Regions from separate parts of the Homo sapiens genome. Here region 1 is linked to region 2. The links are contacts of gene promoters, found by promoter capture Hi-C in human tissues and cell types (Jung and others, 2019). All regions are on one chromosome and are shown on one strand. The core of a region is centred on a gene start or on the middle of the fragment in contact, and the rest is flanking DNA. Distances in the headings are between cores, read along the strand shown. Region 1 holds the start of EVI2A (ecotropic viral integration site 2A). Region 2 holds the start of TEFM (transcription elongation factor, mitochondrial).

Region 1 (6,923 bases), core at 2,691-5,190, 420 kb after region 2:
TTTTAATTTATTATACAAAAGTAAAGGTTTTAATTTAATATTAATAGTAGAAAAACACTTTCTTACGTGTGCCATATGGAAAGATAAAGGATCTATTCTAAAATTAGCTGTGTTGGTTGATAAGCTGGTGTGGATTCTGCCACATCCAGCAAGGAAGATACCATTAAATTACACAGTTTAGCTCTCTCTATCTATGCATTAGGAATTTGACTTCCATTTGATGTTAAAGCATATACTTGGCTTTAAGGACACACTAAAACTATTCAAAGTTTAATTACATTCAGACAAAGATCATCTAACCACTGTTGCTACATAGGGAATATTTATTTAATTATCCCTTGCTATCTCTATTAATCAGTTTCCTCAATTTATCCTTAAAATTTTCCTCAAATGCTTAGTTATTTTATTATTTGCTTTTTAAAATATTCAGTGTCAAAACAAAAGTACACAGTTTAAATAATTAAGCAGGCATACTTCTCCCTGTCTCACCTGCTTGATTCTAAATTGCAAGGTCTACCATGTCAAATTTTAGATAATCAGAACAACACTTTGGGATTAAATACCAACTGACTTCATTTTTACTCCATAAGCCTTCTCATTGCTACTTTGCATTTTTCTTCACTAACCTATCTGTTTGTTAGTAAGTTTTTCAGTTCCTTCTTCATCTTTTCTTTCCCTTGTAGCTGTGAGCACTCCAGTAGATTGCATCACTAGGTTGGGTCCTGTGAGCTGTTTTGTTCTTTTCCAAGTGTCTGATTCAGCGGGCCATAGACCGCTTGCCAGAAAATCGCCATTGCTTCTAGGCTGACGCTTGCCTACTTGTTTTGATCGTCTGAGAGAAGAGACTTTGTTTGCCAAAACCACAGTTGATAGAAATAGAAAGGTACAGATAAGAAAAAGCACTGCAATTATAATTAAGCAAATTAGCATAGCCATGTTGTTGTTGTTTTCCGCACAGACATCCTTTTTGAAAATTTCACCATGACTTTTGCTTGTGTTTTCAATGCTCTGTACTGTTGAAGGACTGTTGCTGACGACAGAAGGTATATAAAGCTCCTGTTCAGATTTAGAAGTTAAAGCTACGATGTGAGATGTTTCAGGCATGTTTGTAGAATTACCTTTATAATCTACTTCAGGAGTTATAGGGTTTGTGTTAATGTTTTCATTTTGGTTTCTGCCTGTCTTGTTTTGAATAACTGAATCCCAGGAAGAAGTACTGTTAGCCCACAGACGGGTATAGTTTGCTTTTGTTCCAGGAGACAAAGAAAAAACTGTTGTCATCAGAAAGGCAAGATGTAGGTAATGTCCTGTGTGTTCCATGTCCGTGGGCATGCTTGGCAATCTGTTGGGATAGCAATATAATTTGTTAGTTTGTGAAAGAATAATGGATCCTAGTTTTGGTAATTGTAGTTAAAAGATAGTGTTGAGATGTTACAAGTAAACTACAAGCTTATGCCTAATATTCGCTACCCTGAATTCCTTCTCAACTAAATTTCTTTTCTATTCAGCTATGTATGAAGAAGCATTTTAATTTCTATTAACACTTTTAGATGCTAGAAGTTAGCATTACAAATAAATATTAATCATTTTAAGTGGACTATCATGGCTTTATATAGTTTTCTTCCTTTGAAGCGTGCTAGACTTCTGCTTTGAGTCAGTTAGTTCTGCTTTTACTTTTCTGATTCCTTCTTTAAAAAAAAAAAAAAATTAAGGATCATTCTTACAGAAACTACCCACCCTCTAACCTGTCACCAATCTTTACAGAAGAAATGTGGCCTTGAGCTTCTTGCTTCATGTATGAAATAAATGCAAATTTTTTTGGTGGAAAGAGGGGAAGTTTGGTAGCAACCAAAAGAAACTGAACTTCAAATAGAAATTCAAGGTGTTCTTTTTTTTTCTTGGGTGTTCATCTTGAAGCTTAGAATAAAGCTGGTACTTAGAAATACATTTGTAAGTGTATTTGTGAACGCAATTTTACTGTGGTGGTTGTCTCTTTTCATTTATATTTCCCTGGACTGACTGTGTCTTTCTGAAGGCAAAGGCATACCAGTTTTCTCAACCTAAAAATCTGAAGAAAAAAAAAAAAAAACAGCAAATTTCCTCTGAGTAGACTTAAAAGTTCAACAAAAGTTGCTGGGTTTTCTTTTAAAGCATCATTTATACCTAGCATTTTTTCTGATTTTGACATAATTGTAAAAAAAAATGTGTAATAAAATAGAAATAGAGCATCAGGATCTTGATGATTTGGGATGAAGTGGCAGGTTATAAGCATCTCAACAGATAATTGAAAATGTTGAATTTCCGCTTTGGCCCTGAGCTTGCTGGAAACTAGTACAAAAAGGAGACAAGTTATATTATACATTTTTTAAATCTACCAAATGATTGATTTAAATAGAAATGGCATATCTTAGAATTTAACAGTTCCATGTACTGCTAACCCAGCAGGAAAGATTTATAATCATTATTAAGGTATCTTATAATAATATACCAGTTTGTCTTGAGCTACTTTTGAAAGGAGTATTTTATTGTTAGCATTTATTTGAATGAACTAAAAGCAAAACTATATTGTTCTCCTGAGATTTACTAAATGAAATTGCCTGGTTAAGAACCCTACGTATGCTATAGAAATTCTTCTCAAATGTACTTAGGAGTCCTTTTATTTAAAAAAAAAAAAAAAAGGCAGATTCTTACCTAGCTAGTATAGGTAGGGCCTGAAAGTCTTTGTTTCCAAACCAACTCCTAAGCAACATGGATGCCACTGCTAGTCAGGCTTTTGAACATCAAGGTTTTATAAGAAATGGTTGTTATATGTCATTGGCTGACATTTGTATACTATTAAAATACAGAAATTGAAAATAAGAAATGTGATACGTTGAGTTATGCAAACAAAAGTAGCATGTAATAAACAATGCTAACTGGAGACTATATTTCATATTAATAGTAGGGAGGAAAAACTATTAAATATTCCAGGATTAAGATTACTTTTTAGATTATGACCTTTAGTAGACAATTAAAGGCCCAAGTCACTGGCTTTTGTATAATAGTGTTCAGCTTTAATTTTTAAGTTTAGTGACATAAATCTTTGGATATTTCATGATTCTTCCACAAAAAGAAATACTTGAAATTGGATTAGCAAGTAATTTCCATCTTTTTATACTAGACTGGACTTCTGTATTAGATGCTAGAATGATTTAAAGTAGATTATTCTTTTCACATTAGTTCATTAACAGTGTAGTATACATCATAGTATTGGTACACATTTTAACAGTGCTTACCACGGAACAGATAATAGGCCTGCTGTTGATTGTCTTCAGCCAGATGTACTGCAGTGCCCAAATAAACAAACTGTATGACAAAATGAGACTTTCTCTTGCCCTTACAAATGCCTGAGAATTGAGGACTGTTTTTACTCCAGTTTATGCCTTGGAGGCCAGGTTGTGTTATCAGAAGTTTTCTTATATCTGATCATTTTCAGTAGAATTTATTTTCAGTAGAATTTGTAATGTCCAAGCATTAGTAATGAGAAATTTATTTTTTAACTTTTGAAAAATAACAAAACATTTCCAGTTTACTTGAGGAAACCAAACTTAGATCCTTCGTAATCCTAATTTAAAACTCCATGGCGATGGCAAATTTTTTCATTTCTAACTTAAAATTTATGTAACAGGACAGAAAAAAAAAGTATACATTTTCAGTCACAATTCTAGTTTGTTAGTGAGATTCTTACACACTTTGATAGCATTTCCTCGAACACTAATCTGTCAGACGTTAGAAGTGAAAAGGCATAAGAAAAGCCGTATATATATGACCTACCTTACAAAATGCTTGGTCAAAATCTGATTATAACGTGATTTTGATAAACCACTTCTTTTCTTGTCTTCTTTTTAAAGCAGAATAGACTTGGAGAATATGAGCCTTAAAGTAAATCTGCAGTAAAAAAGGATATGTGCAGCTAGTTTTCCACTTTTAAAACCAAACCACAGATGACACATTTCCTTTCCACTGCAACTAAAGCACATGTCACAGGAGGGAAAAAAAAAAAAACAACGAAAAAGCTCCAACTTCTCTAGTTGGCCACTGGCATGACAGGAGGCTTTGTAGAACCAATCCCCGCCTCCAGAGCAGGGAGGGTTTTCCACTTAATGCCTTTTGACAGTATGCTCATTCTATAGGCCTGCTACATGCTTTAGTGTCATTCAAAAGAGGTTTTGAAATGGTATCTTCCATTTCAAATCTTCTCTAAAAGACTTATTTGAAATCTACAGACTGATTTGAAAATGTGAGTTTGGAGTCCATGGGATACTGATCAGATAATGTAACAATTGTGGAACTGCAGCAATTATTTGAGAAAATATCTAGTAAACTTAGATTATATGGGACAGAAAATGCTTTCGTGTGGTGTAGTGTGTGTATACACACACACACACACACACACACACACACACACAACTGTCAAACATCCTGTCATCACCTCAAGTTTAACATGACTGAAACAGACTTTAAGAACTAGGTATGGGCTGAACACGGTGGCTCACACCTGTAATCCCAGCACGTTGGGAGGGTTGACGCAGGCAGATCACTTGAGGCCAGGAGTTCAAGACCAGCCTGGCCAACATAGAGAAAACCTGTCTCTACTAAAAATATAAAAATTAACCAGGCAGGGTAGCATGCACCTGTAGTCCCACCTACTTGGGAGGCTGAGACAGGAGAATAGCTTGAACCCGGGACGTGGAGGCTGCAGAGATCATGAGATCTTGGCTGCATGAGCTAAGATCATGCCACTGCACTCCAGCCAGGAAGACAGAGTAAGACTCTGTCTCAAAAAAAAAAAAAAAAAAAAAAAAAAAAAAAAAAAGAACTGGATATGGCAGCACATATCTGTAATCCCAGCTACTAGGTAGGTTGAGGTAGGAGGATCACTGGTGGAGCCCAGGAGTTCAAATCCAGCCTGGGTAACATAGCAAGACTCCATCTCTTAAAAATTAATTAAATTAATGAAATAAAAAGAACTTTATTTTTTCTTTAAAGGAGGCTGCCTGTGACAGTCTTCTTGTTTCTGTTCATGATAGCAACATTCTAATATCAGAGGCTTAGTATACAACACATCATTTTAATTTAAGTCCTCTCAGTCCTGATCAGACTTTGAATCATGTTGGTCCTTCCTTCATATTGTTGGATCAGTTTCTTTTTCCCTGTTTTTACTGTCAACAGTACTATTTTAGATCCTTATCAGGTCATACCTAGACTCTACAGTGCCTTTTCGGTAGCCCTGAATCCTTCTTATATCTTGTATACATCACTGTCTTTGGTCATACCACCCTTTCTTTAAGGGAAAATAAAACCGGTTGAACAGTTCCCTAATACATACAACAATGATTCAGAAATGTTTGTGTACATAAACATCAGATGAGAAGATTGTTTAAAAATTATAAAAGCAGGACATGGTGGCTCACACCTGTAATCTCAGCACTTTGGGAGGCTGAGGCGGGAGGATTACTTGAGCCACAGAAATTCGAGACCAGCCTGGGCAGCATGGCAAAATCCTGTCTCTACAAAAAATACAAAAAAACAAAAACAAAAAACTAGCCGGGCATGGTGGCGCTTATCTGTAGTCCCAGCTACTCAGGAGGCTGAGGTGGGAGGATCACCTGAGCCTGGGGAGGTCAAGGCTACAGTGAGCTGTGACCGTGCCACTGCAGTCCAGCCTGAGTTAAGGGAAAAAAAAAAAAGATAAAAATTTCCAGGCCCCACTACATAGATCCATATTTAGTAGGTCCAGGTTGGGACCAGGAAACTGCATTTTTATCAAGCACCACAGTTGATTCTGACGCCAGTAGTCCACAGAACATATGCTGAGAAATGGTGAGCCCCTAGTAGAAAACCTAAGCCCTTTGGTTGGGCAGTTATGGTCTCTCCACAATTTGACTATTCTGTATTTTCCCAGCTTTATCTCTCAAAACTTCTCTACCTGAATCCTCCATTCTGGCTAGACTAGCTGTCTCTTCAACACATCTAGTTACCTGTTTCTTTTCCTTTTTGCCTTTCTCCATAAGGCCTGCCCAGTCCTCTTGCTGAGTCTGCATTCCTCCTTACCTGATTCAGCCACTGTATCTTCTATGTAGCTTTCACTGACTGCCCAGTTTGTGTTAATCTCTCTCTCTCTCTCCTTTGTCTTAATAACAGTATTTTCTCTGCATTTCCTTTGATAAGTGATTACTTTCTACCTCATATCTTCTATCTTGAAATATTTGTGTTGTTTTAAAATCATTTGACTTGTCATATTTTTATCTTATTTTCTCCCAACAAGATTAAAAATTCTGAGGTGAAGTTTTTTATTGATACATGATAATTTGTACATATTAATGGAGTATGTGTGATTTTTTTGGTTTTTTTTGTTTTTGTTTTTGTTGGAATCTCGCTCTATCGCCCAGGCTGGAGTGCAGTGGCACAATCTCAGCTCACTGCAAACTCCCCTCCCAGGTTCAAGCAATTCTCCTGCCTCAGCCTCCCAAGTAGCTGGGGCTACAGGCACGTGCCACCACGCCCAGCTAATTTTTGTATTTTTAGTAGAGACAGGGTTTCACCCTGTTGGCCAGGCTAGTCTTGACCTCCTGACCTCAGGTGATCTGCCCGTCTTGGCCTCCCAAAGTGCTGGGATTGCAGGCGTGAGCCACCATGCCCTGCCTGTATGTGTGATATTTTGATACATGCATATAATGTGTAATGATTAAATCAGGGTGATTAGGATATCCATTGCCTCAAAGAAAAGAAATTGTTTCGTCTAGCTGTTTTGAAATATACAATGTTATTATTAACTAGTCACCTTACTATGAATAGTAGAACTTGTTCCTTCTATCTAATTCTAACAATACATATATTATTTATTTTATTATTATTTTTTTAAGACAGTCTCACTGTTGCCC
Region 2 (7,103 bases), core at 1,596-4,095:
AATTTTGTATTTTTAGTAGAGATGGGCTTTCACCACATTGGCCAGGATTGTCTGGATCTCTTGACCTTGTGATCCGCCCGCTTTGGCCTCCCAAAGTGCTGGGATTACAGGTGTGAGCCAGCCGCTTTTTTTTTTTTTTTTTAATCTTACCTATAGACTTGCATGATTCAAGATAAAATGCTTTTTAAAGGAGAAAAGGTACAGAAAATAATTTTAAATTCTGCCGGAAAGACTGGTATAATGTTCTAAAGTCACTCACTGGCCATAACCTATCTTTGCTCCTTAATTTCTCATTAATCCTAACATCACCCTTAGACACAGCCTGGTATCTCCAACGACACTCCTCTTAAATAAGCCTTGCCTAGACCTGCTTCTCAGCATCAACTGTTCTTTCTACCTACAATGCCCTCCTCTCCCATCCAAAGGATCTCTCTTTTAAGACCTAAATTGAGTTCTTCCAGTAAACTTTCCACAACAGTCACAGCCCATTGTTTTCTCTCCTCTCAACTGCCAATTTACTATCTGTACATCTCATTATTTGGTAGTGATCATATACTTGCCAACTAAACCTGAAGAACCCTGTCTTAGCCACTTCCCAACCCAATGCCCAGAAGAGTGCTTTCTAGAGTAGGTTCTCAAATATTAGGCAGTATAGCAGACATGAAGAATATACCTTAAGTCTTTCTCTTTCTATGTCTGGTTTGAGGAGCTTTCTCAGGAACCGGTTTTCCGGTGACTTTCTTTTTTCCCGTCCAGTCTTTGGACAAAGTATGGAGTTACAAACTTGAACTGTACTTTTATACTTAAACAAGGGCACATTCATTAAACTCTCTAAATTCTGAAATGGCCCAAAGTTTTCTCTGTGCTCTACGATATTGATGGACCTTCTTCCACGAAGCAATCGGAAAGCTTCAAGTTCTTTAGTAGATGCTGTATTCAACACATGCAAGATGGAAGCCTGCTGTTCTGAAGAGAAGAGCTTGTCAAGTGCATTTTCGGGCTCCTTTGCATTTTCATCACAAAAAGTAACATTGGGAGTAATTTTCTTAGGTGTAGTGGATTTTTTCCGACAGCAGAAATTATGTAAGGCCCAGTACAGGGATGACCTCGACGGGGTCAGAAAGCATCTCCACCTCTCTAAAAGGAAAATTTAGCAAAATATAAGTTGGATGTCCTACTTCCTTTGGGGTTAGTTGCAAGCTTGACTAGATCCTTTGCAAAGTCACAAATACTTTCCTGGAATTTAAGAACTAATAGAGGACAATATTAAATTGTCTTGGAGAATCATCTTTTTTTTTTTTTTTTGAGACGGAGTCTTGCTCTGTTGCCCAGGCTGGAGTGCAGTGGCCGATCTCGGCTCACTGCAAGCTCCGCCTCCCAGGTTCACGCCATTCTCCTGCCTCAGCCTCCCAGGTGGCTGGGACTACAGGCGCCTGCCACCACGCCCGGCTAATTTTTTGTATATTTAGTAGAGACGGGGTTTCACAGTGTTAGCCAGGATGGTCTCCATCTCCTGACCTCGTGATCCGCCCACCTCAGCCTCCCAAAGTGCTGGGATTACAGGCGTGAGCCACTGTGCCCGGCCCGAGAATCATCTTTAAAAGAGGATTAGTTTTTAAACTATATTATATAGAGTTTTAAATAGAGCTTTTGTTGTTTTCAAGTCACGAGAGATGTCTCCCGATATTTATGGATCAGTCCGAAGTTTTACTACCTAGAAAATTGTATTTTATACCCATCAGGAAGCAAGTAGTTGAAATAATTATTCCAACTGCTTAAAGTTTCTGATATTTTTAATTTAGAGGAATCTTTTTGTAACTAATATTTCCTGTTAAGGTTTGTCTTAGGCCGGGCGCGGTGACTCACGCTTATAATCCCAGCACTTTGGGAGGCCGAGGTGGGCGGATCACCTGAGGTCGGGAGTTCGAGACCAGCCTGACCAACATGGAGAAACCCTGTCTCTACTAATAATACAAAATTAGCCGGGCGTGGTGGCACATGCCTGTAATCCCAGCTACTCGGGAGGCTGAGGCAGGAGAATCGCTTGAGCCCGGAAGGCGGAGGTTGCGGTGAGCCGAGATCGCACCATTGCACTCCAGTCTCGGCAACAAGAGCGAAACTCCGTCTCAAAAAAAAAAAAAAAAGGGTTTTGTCTTCACTTCCATTTTCACATTTTAGTATCTCATCTGGTGGAACTAAATAAAATTAAATTTTGTACGTTTATAAGAAATGTTTCAGCTAAGTGATAGATTTAAGGGCAGTTTTACTTTCTTCCGTACACTTTTCAAGACTTCTACATGACGTTTTTGCAAGTATGAGAAACACCATACAATGCATAACTTTGTAAAACCAGTGGGAAGTCACTCTAACATCGCAGCCACAGGAAAGTAATGTGGCCAGAGGTAAGCAAGCGGCTGTGAGAATGTGAACCATCCGCCCACTCTGAGGAGCCACCCGTGGACCCTGAGGCCGGGGAAGCACAAATGTTCCGAAAACTGCCCCGTCAGCTAGGCTGGGGCCCCAAGAGAGGGGCCTGAACAAGGGACATGAGGAAGGAAACACTCTAGGACATGAGGGACATGAGGAAGGAAACACTCCAGGTTCCTCCAGAATACCTCCAGCCGTATTCCATTAGCCTCTAGGGTCAGAGGCTAATGACAGACGGGAAATCACCCCAGTGTTCCAAGCACCCTACCTCCCGCCGTATTCCATTAGCCTCTAGGGTCAGAGGCTAATGACAGACGGGAAATCACCCCAGTGTTCCAAGCACCCTACCTCCCGCCGTGAAGAGGACAGACCCGCTCATCTCCAAGTTGAATCAGTAGGTCCAGTCTTCCTCCATTGACTTCCGGTTCCTGCGTGCTGCGCCCAAAAGCGCTCGGCCTGCACTCGGCGGAAAGGTTGTTGTCCAAGCGGCGTTCCGGGGCAAGGCCCGAGGTGTGTCCCGCTGAGCAGTGGGTCGTCCGCGTCTGGGCTGCGGGCTTCCAGGCGGGCGCCTGCCGAGGCCCTGTCCCCGGATCCCGAGTCCCTGGCTGGCCCGCAGTCTTCTTCCACTGCACCGGGGAAACGTTCTTGCCCCTACCGACTCCTGAGAGCCGCTGGGCCGAATCTCCAGGAAGGCGATTCCGAGGCCAGTTTTAGTCTGTAGTGGGTAAAGTGCCTCCTTCGTGGAGACTCCCTGGGTTTCTCCTAGACACTTAGATTGAGGAGCTCCTGTTGGGGCCCAGCCTGTGGCGCCGGGAGCGGGATCAGGTAGGGGCAGCGTAGACAAGGTCCTCAAATAACCTTTTCACCAGGTAGACTGGAATAACGGGGAGAGATGCGAAGTGTTTGAGGAGCTCAGCGGGGAAACAGGGCAGGCAAGGGATTAGGTAAAGGCGAGGGAGGAGGAGATTGCGTTGGCGCTGGAGCGGTATTCCTCTTAGAAGGGATAAAGGGAGATGAATGTAGCGCCGAATTTAGTTGGTCCTTGAATAATGGGTGGAGCAGTTGAATACTCCACCAGATAGGAAGCCTGAAGTCCCCGAGGTTTATGATTTGCAGTCAGACTGGAGAGTGTTCCTAGAAAATTGGCCATATACTGTATAGCGAATGTGAGGCTGGATTGCAGGTGAAGAGCCTGGGAGCAATGAGAAGTCGCGAAGAGAGTGTATCTTCCCAGGTGAGAGGCAAGCGTAAGGAATTTTTTTTTTAACAGTCTTGCTCTGTCGCCCAGGTTGGAGTGCAGTGGTGCGATCTGGACTCACTGCAAACTCCGCCTCCCGATTTCAAGTGATTCTCGTGCCTCAGCCTCCCGAGTAGCTGAGATTACAGGCGAGCGCCACTACGCCCGGCTAATTTTTGTATTTTTAGTAGAGACAGGTGTCACCATGTTGGCCAGGCTGGTCTCGAACTCCTGACCTCAGGTGATCCGCCCGACTCGGCCTCCCAAAGTGCTGGGATTACAGGCGTGGGCCACTGCGCCTGGCCAACCGTAAGGAATTGAACCTAGGAGATGTAAGGAGAGTGGAAAGAAAAGAATTATTTCTGGAAGATGGGGAGCCAGTTTTGTGAAAAACGGGGAATTCAGGAGGGAGGGAAAGGTGATGAGTTTGCGTTTTTATGAGGCAGCAATGGGTTGATTGTTTGTGTCTGGAAGGCAGTGGGGATGTAGGGGAATCATAAGTATTAATAAAATGTGCTGGTCGGGAGCAGTGGCTCCCAAAGTGTAATTCCAGCACTTTGGGAGGCCGAGACGGGCGGATCGCTTGAGCTCTTGAGTTCCAGACCACCCTGGGCAACATGGCGAAACCCCGTCTCTACGAAAAAATTAGCCGGGTGTGGTGGAGCACGCCTGTTATCCCAGCTACTCAGGAGGCTGAGGTGGGAGAATCACCTGAGCCCGGGAGGTAGAGGTTGCAGTGAGTGGAGATCGTGTCACCACACTCCAGCGTGGGGGACAGAGCCAGACCTTGTCTCAAAAAAAGAAAAAAAATTGCTCATAGGAAGTCTAGAAACCTTGGCAGTTTCTGGGGAACTTAGGAATCTAACAAGAAATAACATCAACTTTTTTCTGCAAAATCCTCCAAATCAGGAGGAAATAATTTCCTCAACTGTAGGGCTTATTCAGTTTACTGAGATGTTATGATTGAATTGCATCCCTCAAAACAGATTTGTTGAAGTCCTAACCCCCAGTACCTTATTATTTCCAAATAAGGTCATTGTAGATGTAACTAATTAAAATGAGGACAGGAAGGCCGGCACGGTGGCTCACGCCTGTAATCCCAGCGCTTTGGGAGGCCGAGGAGGGGGGATTACGAGGTCAGGAGATCGAGACCATCCTGGATAACACGGTGAAACCCCGTCTCTACTAAAAAATACAAAAAATTAGCCGGGCGTGGTGGCGGGCGCCTGTAGTCCCAGCTACTCAGGAGGCTGAGGTAGGAGAATGGCGTGAACCCGGGAGGCAGAGCTTGCAGCGAGCTGAGATGGCACCACTGCACTCCAGCCTGGGCGACAGAGCGAGACTCTGTCTCAAAAAAATAAGTAAATAAATAAAATAAAATGAGGACACGCTGGACTGGGGCAGGGACTAATCCAACATGGCTGCTGTTCTTATGAGAAGATGACTCTGTGAATGCCATGTGAAGATGGAAGCGGAGATTGGAATGATGCTTTCTACAAACCCAGAAAGGCCAAGGGTTGCCAATAGTCACTAGAAACTAGGAGAGAGGCATGGGCCAGAGTCCCCTTAGAGCCCTTTGAAGGAACAAGCCCGGATAACACCTTGATTTTGGGCTTCCAGCCTCCTGAACTGGAGAGAATAAATGACCAGTTTGTGGTCATTTGTTACAGCAGCCCTAAGAAACTAATACAAGAGGCCATAAGGATTCCTGGTGTTGCTTTCAGAGATGGTCTGGTTCGCTAGCAAGACACAGTTTATCACTTAGTAACTGCATCACCATAGTCAGTTTCTTATCCTCTCTGAACCTCACCTTCCTCATTTGTAAAACGGAGTTAATGGTACCTACCTCACAGGGCTGCTTGGAGGATGCATGAGAAACTGGATGCAAAGAACCCAGCATAAGATAAGAGTTCAATCAATGTGGTTTTGCCCAGTAAAGCATCCCCCCTCTTCCTGAGAAATGATTATGAATGACCTATAGGGGAATCACCCTCCTTCCTGAAAGCATTTATTCAGAAATATGCTTTGACCAGAGCCAGAAATACAAAGGAAAGAGATAAGTATTGCCTGATTTACTGTAAACCAGAATTGATGCCTCCAAAATGAAAGTCACCGTCTTCCCCCAAAAACTAGCTCCTTCTCACTTCCCTGTTTTTGTCACCCAGATGCAGGTGTCTCTGGCTCTTTCTACTCCTTCCATCATTATGTCTAGCCTGTTATCTAGTTTCTGTGTTTTTAAAACTTTTGACTGATCCAGGATACATGTGTGATACAAAAGTTTCATTAAAAAAAAAAAAAGGCCAGGTGTGGTGGTTCAACACTTGTAATACCAGCACTTTGGGAGAGCAAGGCAGGCAGATTCATTGAGCCCAGGAGTTTACGACCAGCCTGGGCAACATGGCAAGACCCCATCTTTACCAAAAATACCAAAAAAAATTAGCTGGGCATAGTGGTATGCGCCTGTAGTTCCAGCTACTTGGGAGGCTGAGGTGGGAGAATCCCTTGAGCCTGGGAGGTGGAGGTCGTAGTGAGCAGAGATTGCACCACTGTACTCAAGCCTGGGTGGCAGAGTGAGACCCTGACTAAATGAAAAACAAAAACAACCATTGTATTTTTGCATGTGATACAACCTGATATTTTCTATTTCCTTCTTTTTTTTTTAAGTTAGGAGTGCAAAAGGTTTATTGAAAAAAACAAAAACAAACTAAAATCTGTTTTGAAGCCTGCAGGACATTAGAGGGTGATGTCCAATAGATAGAGATGCACATCTGAAGCTAAGGAGGAGCACTGAGCTGGGGTGTATGTTTGGAGGCCGTCAGCCTGTAGAGATGGTACTTTACTCATGAGAACAGATACGAGGAGCCAGGGAGAGGGGGTAGGCGTGAGAAAAGCACAGTGAGATAAGGAGAGAACTCCTTGGGAGCACCACCATTAGATGTGGTTAGAGGATTCCGATTCCCAAGAAGATTGAGAAACAATGTTCACATTTAAAAGGAAACAGGAGGCTGGGCACTGTGGCTCACGCCTGTAATCCCAGCACTTTGGGAGGCCAAGGCAGGCAGATCACCTGAGGTCAGAAGTTCGAGACCAGCTTGGCCAACATGGTGAAACCCCATCTCTACTGAAAATACAAAAATTAGCCGGGCGTGGTGGTGGGCGCCTGTAATCACAGCTACTTGGGAGGCTGAGGCAGGAGAATGGCCTGAACCTGGAGGCAGAGGTTGCAGTGAGCCGAGATTGCACCACTGCATTCCAGCCTGGGCGATAAGAGAGAGACTCCGTCTCAAAGAAAACCAAAAAACAAAAAACACCACATTGCAATACCACTACACACCCATGAGAATACCTACTGGAAATCTCATACATTGCTGATGGAAGTGTGGGTTGGTTGAATCACTTTGAAAAGCTGGCAATATCTACTAAAGCTGAAGATTTGTAT

Evidence for each region. Contacts are between HindIII fragments. The study calls those that stand out against the background at their distance.
Region 1: a contact is called between the fragment with the promoter of EVI2A here and the fragment with the promoter of TEFM in region 2, in 1 of the 25 tissues and cell types used here (IMR-90 fibroblasts).

The regions. Positions count from the first base shown.
Region 1 is chr17:31,317,682-31,324,604 of GRCh38, forward strand. It overlaps EVI2A (ecotropic viral integration site 2A), which reads right to left and starts at 3,941. Exons shown (of 2, transcript NM_014210.4): 1 at 3,814-3,941; 2 at 1-1,342. The coding sequence starts at 1,332. The coding sequence ends at 622. The region is part of intron 36 of NF1 (neurofibromin 1); the gene reads left to right. RefSeq lists enhancers at 770-819, 1,030-1,089. The HindIII fragment of the contact is 10,482 bases long and covers 1,684-6,923 here.
Region 2 is chr17:30,903,393-30,910,495 of GRCh38, forward strand. It overlaps TEFM (transcription elongation factor, mitochondrial), which reads right to left and starts at 2,846. Exons shown (of 4, transcript NM_024683.4): 1 at 2,776-2,846; 2 at 674-1,137. The coding sequence starts at 2,806. RefSeq lists enhancers at 3,336-3,605, 3,584-4,384. The HindIII fragment of the contact is 8,355 bases long and covers 1-7,103 here.